2 separate regions of the Homo sapiens genome follow, and region 2 is linked to region 1. Evidence: promoter capture Hi-C in human tissues and cell types (Jung and others, 2019). All regions are on one chromosome and are shown on one strand. Each heading gives the region's core, a stretch centred on a gene start or on the middle of the fragment in contact. The rest is flanking DNA. Distances are from core to core; before and after follow the strand shown. Region 1 holds the start of UPK3A (uroplakin 3A). Region 2 has its middle 36 kb from the start of RIBC2.

What was found. The method cuts DNA at HindIII sites, captures the fragments that hold promoters and counts their contacts. A contact is called where the count stands out against the background at its distance.
Region 2: a fragment that was not itself captured here is called in contact with the fragment with the promoter of UPK3A in region 1 in 1 of the 25 tissues and cell types used here (dorsolateral prefrontal cortex).

The regions. Positions count from the first base shown.
Region 1 is chr22:45,283,610-45,287,359 of GRCh38, reverse strand. It overlaps UPK3A (uroplakin 3A), which reads right to left and starts at 2,411. Exons shown (of 6, transcript NM_006953.4): 1 at 2,295-2,411; 2 at 1,264-1,419; 3 at 1-188. The coding sequence starts at 2,346. RefSeq lists a silencer at 2,281-2,590. The HindIII fragment of the contact is 20,192 bases long and covers 1-3,750 here.
Region 2 is chr22:45,448,018-45,451,700 of GRCh38, reverse strand. No RefSeq gene overlaps it. Among named protein-coding and RNA genes, the nearest start is that of RIBC2, 36 kb to the right of the region's middle. The HindIII fragment of the contact is 9,220 bases long and covers 1-3,683 here.

The DNA of each region.
Region 1 (3,750 bases), core at 1,162-3,661:
GTAGGCATTCAGGATCTGTGAGGCCTTGGACACATCCCCAATGGCATCCAGGCTGGGCAGGTCACTGCAGGGGATCAGGTCAAAGGCCACAGCTTTGTAGGGACCTGTCCTCCCACCCTCTGTTTGTAGGAACGTTGAGCCCAGTGGGGTGTTGGTGCTGTCTTGCACTGAGGCATTCCTGGAAATGGCTGCAGAGGCGGTGCAGGGAGTCAGGCTTCTGGCCACTCCGGCTCAGCGACACTCACTCAGTTATTCATCAAATGCCTGATCATCCTTTCTGCCCCAGCTCTGTGCTGGGCACTGGCATCACAGGCATGGGGCAAACTTAGTCTCTGCCCTCTCAGTGCAATGTGGGAGATGGACAAGGATCACCTCCCTGCTTTGGGCGCTGTGTCTGACTCTCGCCTTATCTTGTGACATTCCTGCAACCCCCCATCCCAACAGACCTTTGTCTCTTCATTGCTGAAAGCCCTGGATTCTCTCTTGTGTAAAATGGGAAAGGAAGGTCATCGGTCCAAGGGAAATAACGTGGAGGCAGGACCCAGCTCTCCTCCTTACTAGATGGGTGACCTTGGACAACTCACTCTACCTCTTCAGACCCTAGTCTTCTATGAAATGGGAGAGAAATTCCCTACAGTGCCCGGAGATCAGGCACTTTAGTTTATAGTCAATAAACACATGCTGAAAGAAGAAAAGGATGGTCCCGAATGAGCTGTTGTAAATGACTGGCTGCTAGAAATGCAAGAGTTGATGTTGGCTTGTCTCAGAAGCTCAGGATCCCCTCCAGGGCAGGGGTTGGGGCTGGGCCACAGCAGCAGGTCCAAATGCATGGTTTTGTCTCAGAAACACCAATCTTGAGCCACCTTTCGAAGCCTCAGGAAGGACCTTGGGCTTGGGGACTAGAGAGATCAGGATTCACTCTCCAGCCCTGGGAGGTCCAGGGGGGGTTATTCCACCTCTCTGAGCCTTGCTTCCCTGCTCTGTAATGGGGATTGGTAATAGCTACCTTACAAGCTGGTTGTAGATACTAGCTCTATGGTGTGCAAAGTGCCTGGTATGGTGTAGGTGTTCAGTGACTGGTGGTGTTATTACTTCCCTCACTAACTGGATGTCCCTGCAAGGCAAGGACAGGTCTGTGGCTGCAGTACCTGTTTAATGAGACGACTACAGGCATGGAGGGTTCCTCTATCTGCCTCCTTCCCTCCTCCCTGCAGACAGGTCAGAGCCCCTTTTGGAGTAGCCAGAGGGAAGCAGGACCCTTACCTGAGTCGACCAGGACATACAGGTAGACCTCGTGGGTGCCAGTGAGGGCCTCTTTGCTGTCAAACATGCAGAGAGGCTTTTCCAAGGCCACAGTGGTAAGTGTGGGGTTGTTGGTGGCGAAAGTCACACTGGCCAGTTGGGGCTGCAGGTTCACAGCTGGAGGAGGCAGTGAGGATGGGAACTGACCTCCGGCAGAACTGTCCACACCCACTCTGCTTGCAGTTACTGAGCACGTGTTGTGTGCCAGGCCCTGGGCTTCACCCTCCCCCTGGGCCACCGCATAAGCTGTCTCAGACACTGCCCCCTGCCCAGTCATCCTGCTCAGAAATGGAGCGGTCGGGCCAAACTGCTGCCTTCTCTCCCTGCTGCAGACACTCAGTTGCCAAGAACTCCACTGCCCCTCCTAAGCATCTCTCCATGCCATCGGCCCAGCCCTCCTCCGTCCCACCTTCCTCACCTGGGCCCTCCCCCCACATGCAAGTCTGACTGCCTCATTCTCTGGCTATGGCCCTCCCATGGTCCCCCAGCGCCCCCTGACGAAGTCCAGCCTCTCTGGAAAGGCAGTGAGGTCCTGAAGTTCTGGGCTTTGCTTTGTTCGGTCTCCAGCCTCACCCCTTCCCCCACAGGCTCCCCTCACCCCAGGCTCCAGCTGGTCCCATGGACTGGCAGTTCCCAGGACAGCCCAATATTGTCTCCCCTCCATGAACTTGCCCATGCTGCTTCCTCGGCCGAAATATCTCTCTATCTGCCCCCGTCCAGGCGTCACCATGGGGCTGGGGCTAGTCCCTTCTCTGTCCTACCGCAGCCCCCCTGCATGTTGGTCTCTTGCAACACACATCGCAGGGCTGCAGCCATCTGTGAGCCCTCGGATTCCCAACAGAGGAGGCCCGTAAACGTTGGCTATCACTATTATTCATAACAGTAATATCTGGGTCCCCAGCGCCAGGAATCAGGGTCCAGGCGGCGGGCGCCCCAGGGCAGAGCTGCCCGCTCTTTCTGGGCTCAGCCCCCTCCTGCCCTTCACCGCCTACCCGAGCCGAACCGCAGGCAGCCGAGGGCCAGCAGGGCCCAGAGCGGAGGCATCGCCCGGGAGGAGCCGCCAGAGCGCGGGGCGGGCGGTCCAGCGAGCAGGCGCGGGCACCAGACCTGTCCCTGCCAGGGCACCTGCCAGCTCTGGGCCCTCGGCGCGCCCCGCCCCCGCCTGGGCTGGCCAATCCGCGGCCTCCTCGCGCGCTATTTGCATACGGCCCTGCCCCGGGCTTCCCCGACCCGTGCGCGGTGCCCCAGGGCGCAATCCCACCGGGCAGGACCTTCTCCAGCCCGCATCAAAGCGCCTACTGTGTGCCCAGGCCAGGGCAGCCCTTCCACAGCGTCTCTCACCAATGGGACCTTGAGGGCAAGCCACTCCCACTTGGAGCCTCAGTTTCCATACTGTAAAATGACGCTAATTTCTACAACTATTTATGGAGGCTCTATTACGTGCCAAACACTCACTGGGCACTCGCGAAACAAAATGGGTTGACCAGTAAAGGTGATATCCTGGAAAACGAAGTCCAGGCCTGGGAGCTATCCAGAGACCCTAGTATGACGCCTAGTATGACCCCTTCGGTTCACAGGTACAAGCCAAGGCCCGGGAGGCTGGGGGGTGGGGCAGGGGGTAAGTATTGGAGCGTGGTGGGGGGCGCGGGGACAGGGACTCACCCCCGGCCGCGCTTGGTCTCCTGGAGACACTGAGGCTGGTGGAACCCAGGAGTCCAGTGCTCAGCCCAGGGCTGCCTCCAAAGGGATGGAGCAGGGTGTTAATGCCTACTTCTTAAAGGGGCGTTTGAAAATTATGATGGACTCCTCACCATGACTGTGCGGTTCCCTCCATCACAAGAATCTGTGCACATCTCTGGATGCACCTTAAATCAATTTTACATTTAAGAAATAAAAGTAAGTCAACAAGGATAGGAAAAAAACAACAGAAGAGGGGCAAGGAGGCTCATGCCTGTAATCCCAACACTTTGGGAGGTCAAGATAGGAGGATCCCTTGAGGCCAGGAGCTAGAGACCATCCTGGGCATCATAGTGAGACCCCATCTCTACCAAAAAAAAAAAAAAAAAAATTAGCTCAGCCTAGTGGGGCATGCCTGTAGTCCCAGGATTGCTTGAGCCCAGGAGGTCGAGGCTACAGTGAACTATGATCATGCCACTTTGAGCTATGATTAAAGCTGCAATAACAGAGCCAGACCCTGTCTCTTAGAAAAAAGATAAAGAAAATCAACAGAAACTAATTAATCTCTGTATGACGTTGATGACATAACCTCACTTGCAGAAAAAGAATAAAACGATCTGAGTAATTATAGAGCTGGGTTGTCCAGGGGTACCTCCTTAGTGGAGTACACTCTAAGAACTGGGAGGCCTGTGACAGAACCCCAAACCTCACTAGTGACTTTGTTATTGGCAGTGGGGAGGGCGGAGCCATTCCGAAGCAACTTTGGGTTAT
Region 2 (3,683 bases), core at 851-3,350, 160 kb before region 1:
AAAAAAATAAGAAAGAATTTAGAGGGGAGATGGGAACTGGAGGTTTAATTTGAGCTATGGGATATTTACTACTGACCAGTGGACCCCTTCGCCCAGGGTGCTCCATCCCAGGCTTCCTGATGCCCGGAGAGAGGAGCAGGCAGGAGCCTTGAGTGTTGCAACATCCTGAGTGATTTATAGGGAAAATGTCCCTTGTGTTTGTTTCTCAGCACTGCCTTCCAAGAGGGAATCTAAAACCCCACATTCTGATCCTAAGTGTAATTTCCAGTCATTTCCACCGACAACATTTGGTTCTTATTATCAAAAGATACTCACACAGATGTAGCATTAAAATCTTGGCTTCCACAGATCAAGAAAACAAGATAATCTGAAGTATTGCAGCAGCCCTCAGACATTTACAATTCCAAGAAATGGTTGTTGGAGAACTCTTCTAGAATATCCATTTCCCAATGTGTTTCTGGGTGGAAGAAAGCCAGCCACTTGGTCAATTTCAGGGTGTTCATCTGAACTTTCCACCAGGAAGGCAGAACAGCCTCAAAGGGTGAACCCCTTAGGGATGAGGACCCGGGATCATTTCCTGGGGCTTCCCCAGGCCCCTTACCTCGGGGCACACAGACGGTGCTCAGTGACGGTTCGTTGGCTGTGAAAAGAAACAGGCAAATGCCACAAGCCAGCACATGCGAGGTCTTCCCATTTGACATCTCTTTCTGCAGGTTCCGAGGGCTGGTGACGGGAGAGGTGTGGCTTCTCTGACACAGAAGTGGAAAAATATACGAAACTCATGTTTGGAACTTTAATGGAGAACTTTTATCCTTCTCCCTGTTAAATTCTGTTTTAGTGATTCTGGATCCTTCCAAATAACATCCCCGGCATGGCATTCTCCACTCACAGGCCTTACATATTCCCAGAGTGTATCGTTACGTAGTAATTTATTAAGTCCATCCTATGCATCAAGTACTTTAATGAAGTATCTCATTTAATTCTCAGAATAATACTGGGACAACCATATGTGGATCATCCTCATTTTACAGATGTGGAAACATAGACTTAGGAAACGTAGGTCATTTTTCCAAGAGAACACGGCCAGTGAGAGGCAAAGCTGGTATGTGGGCCCAGAGAAGGTGACCCACGCCCCATGACGCACTGTTCCTGAGTCCCTGTGAGCACCAGCAGTGCCCAGGCTGGGTGGAAGGGGCCTTCTTGTACATTCGCCTACTTCCTCCTCTTGGGGATCCTGAGAGGTAGGTTGGTGTTATGATCCCCATTTTACAGCTGGGGAAACAGACTCACAGAGGTAAAGCGACTTGTCTGAAGTCACACGAAGCAGAGGGGCCAGAACCCGGGTCTGAGGGACACCAGCAGGGTCCTTTGTCTCCCCCAGAGCCCCAGGACTTCACCCCTCCTCTGCAGCCTCCGCCTCCACCATTGCTCAGGATGAAACAGGCTCCTTCAGAGCCCACCGGGGCACGGAGGCTGAGAGGTAATGGCTTAGCCCGAGAAACCCCCAAGAGGGCTGGCACGGTGGCTCACGCCTGTAATCCCAGCATTCTGGGAGACTGATGCAGGCAGATCTCTTGAGCCCAGGAGTTCAAGACCAACCTGGGCAATCTGGTGAGAACCGGTCTCTGCAAAAATACAAAAATTAGCCAAGTGTGGTGGTGCGCAACTGTAGACCCAGCTACTTGGGAGGCTGAGGTGGGAGGATTGCTGGAGCCCAGGAGGTGGAGACTGCTGTGAGCCAAGATCAAGATTGCACCACTGCACTCTAGCCTGGGTGGCAGAGCGAGACTCTACATCAAAAATAAATAAATAGGGCCAGGTGCAGCAGCTCACGCCTGTCATCCTAGCACTTTGGAAGGCCAAGGCAGGAGTATCACTTGAGGTCAGGAGTTCGAGACTAGCCTGGCCAACATGGTGAAACCCCATCTCTACTAAAATATAAAAATTAGCCAGGCGTGGTGGCACATGCCTGTAGTCCCAGCTACTCAGGAGGCTGAGGCAAAAGAATTGCTTGAACCTGAAAGGCAGAGGTTGCAGTGAGTCAAGATTGCGCCACTGTATTCCAGCCTAGGCAACAGAGTGAGACTCTGTCTTAGAAAATAATAATAAATACATACATACATACATACATAAATAGGCTAGGTGCAATGGCTCACACCTGTAATCCCAACACTTTGGGAGGACGAGGCAGGTGGATCACTTGAGGCCAGGAGTTCGAGACCAGCCTGGCCAACATGGCAAAACACTATCTCTACTAAAAATACAAAAATTACCGGGCATGGTGGTGCCCATAATCCCAGCTACTCGAGAGGCTGAGGCACAAGAATCACTTGAACCTGGGAGTTAGCCGAGATCATGCCACTGCACTCCCAACCTGGGAGACAGAGCAAGACTCTGTCTCAAAAAAAAAAAAAAAAAATAGAGGCCGGGTGCGGTGGCTCACGCCTGTAATCCCAGCACTTTGGGAGGCCGAGGCGGGCGGATCACAAGGTCAGGAGATCGAGACCATCCTGGCGAATACGGTGAAACCCCGTCTCCACTAAAAAATACAAAAAAAATCAGCTGGGCATGGTGGCGGGTGCCTGTAGTCCCAGCTCCTTGGGAGGCTGAGGCAGGAGAATGGCATGAACCTGGGAGGCAGAGCTTGCAGCGAGCCGAGATCGCGCCACTGCACTCAAGCCTGGGTGACAAAGTGAGACTCCGTCTCAAAAAAAAATAATAATAATTAATAAAGAACCCCCTCAGGAGGTTCCAGGGGCCTCAGTGCAATTGTGACTGCACCAGGTGTGACTTGGGAACCCTGGCGAGGAGGCAAGAGAGCGGGAGCCTGTGCAGCTAATTCCACAGGAAGGGAGACCACCCAGATCCAGAGGCCGAGGCCTTCCTCCTGACAGCTCCCTGGCCATTCATCTTGTGCACATGGCTACATAAAAGGAGTCGAGAGATCGAGTCCATTCTTTCCCTCCTCTGGGGCTTGCTTGCAAGGCGGGGTTGGGTCAAGGTTGGGGCAGCCTCTCTCTTCCTCCCTGCTTGGTGCCTCAGTGACCAGCCAGCTCCCTGCCCCACCCAGCTGGCCCCAGGCCACCGGCCGGGCCTGGGACTCAACTTGCCAACTTACAGCCTGAGGGAGGGCTGGGCTCTTCAAAAACAGCCTCAAATCATCCAGGCCGCTGACAGCCACAGGGCAAGCGCCCAGAGCCCATTCTTTCTGTCTGGCCTCCATCTCATCCGGCTATCCCAGGATCCCAGGAGTGGCTGTTGATGGAGCCCTTCCCATGGACTGGGCCTTTGCACACACATTGCACCAAATTCTCACAGCAGCCGAGCCAGGTAAGCCGGGTGATCTCCAATTTACAGATGGAGGGCAGGAGTCTGAAGTGGGCTTTGTGGCCACGCAGCCTGGATTCCCATCCAGCTCAGGACTACATGGTCTTGAGCAAGTCTCTTCACCTACCTGAGCCTCGTTTTATTCAACTCATCAGCAAAATGGGTGTAATTCAGGGTTCCTTTTTTTTTAATATTTGAAAAAAAAATTTTTGTTTTTTTTAGATGGAGTCTCACTCTGTCGCCCAGGTGAGAGGGCAGTAGTAGTGCAATCTTGGCTCACTGCAACATCTGCCTCCCAGGTTCAAGCGATTCTCCTGCCTCAGCCTCCCCAGTAGCTGGGAGTACAGGCACATGCC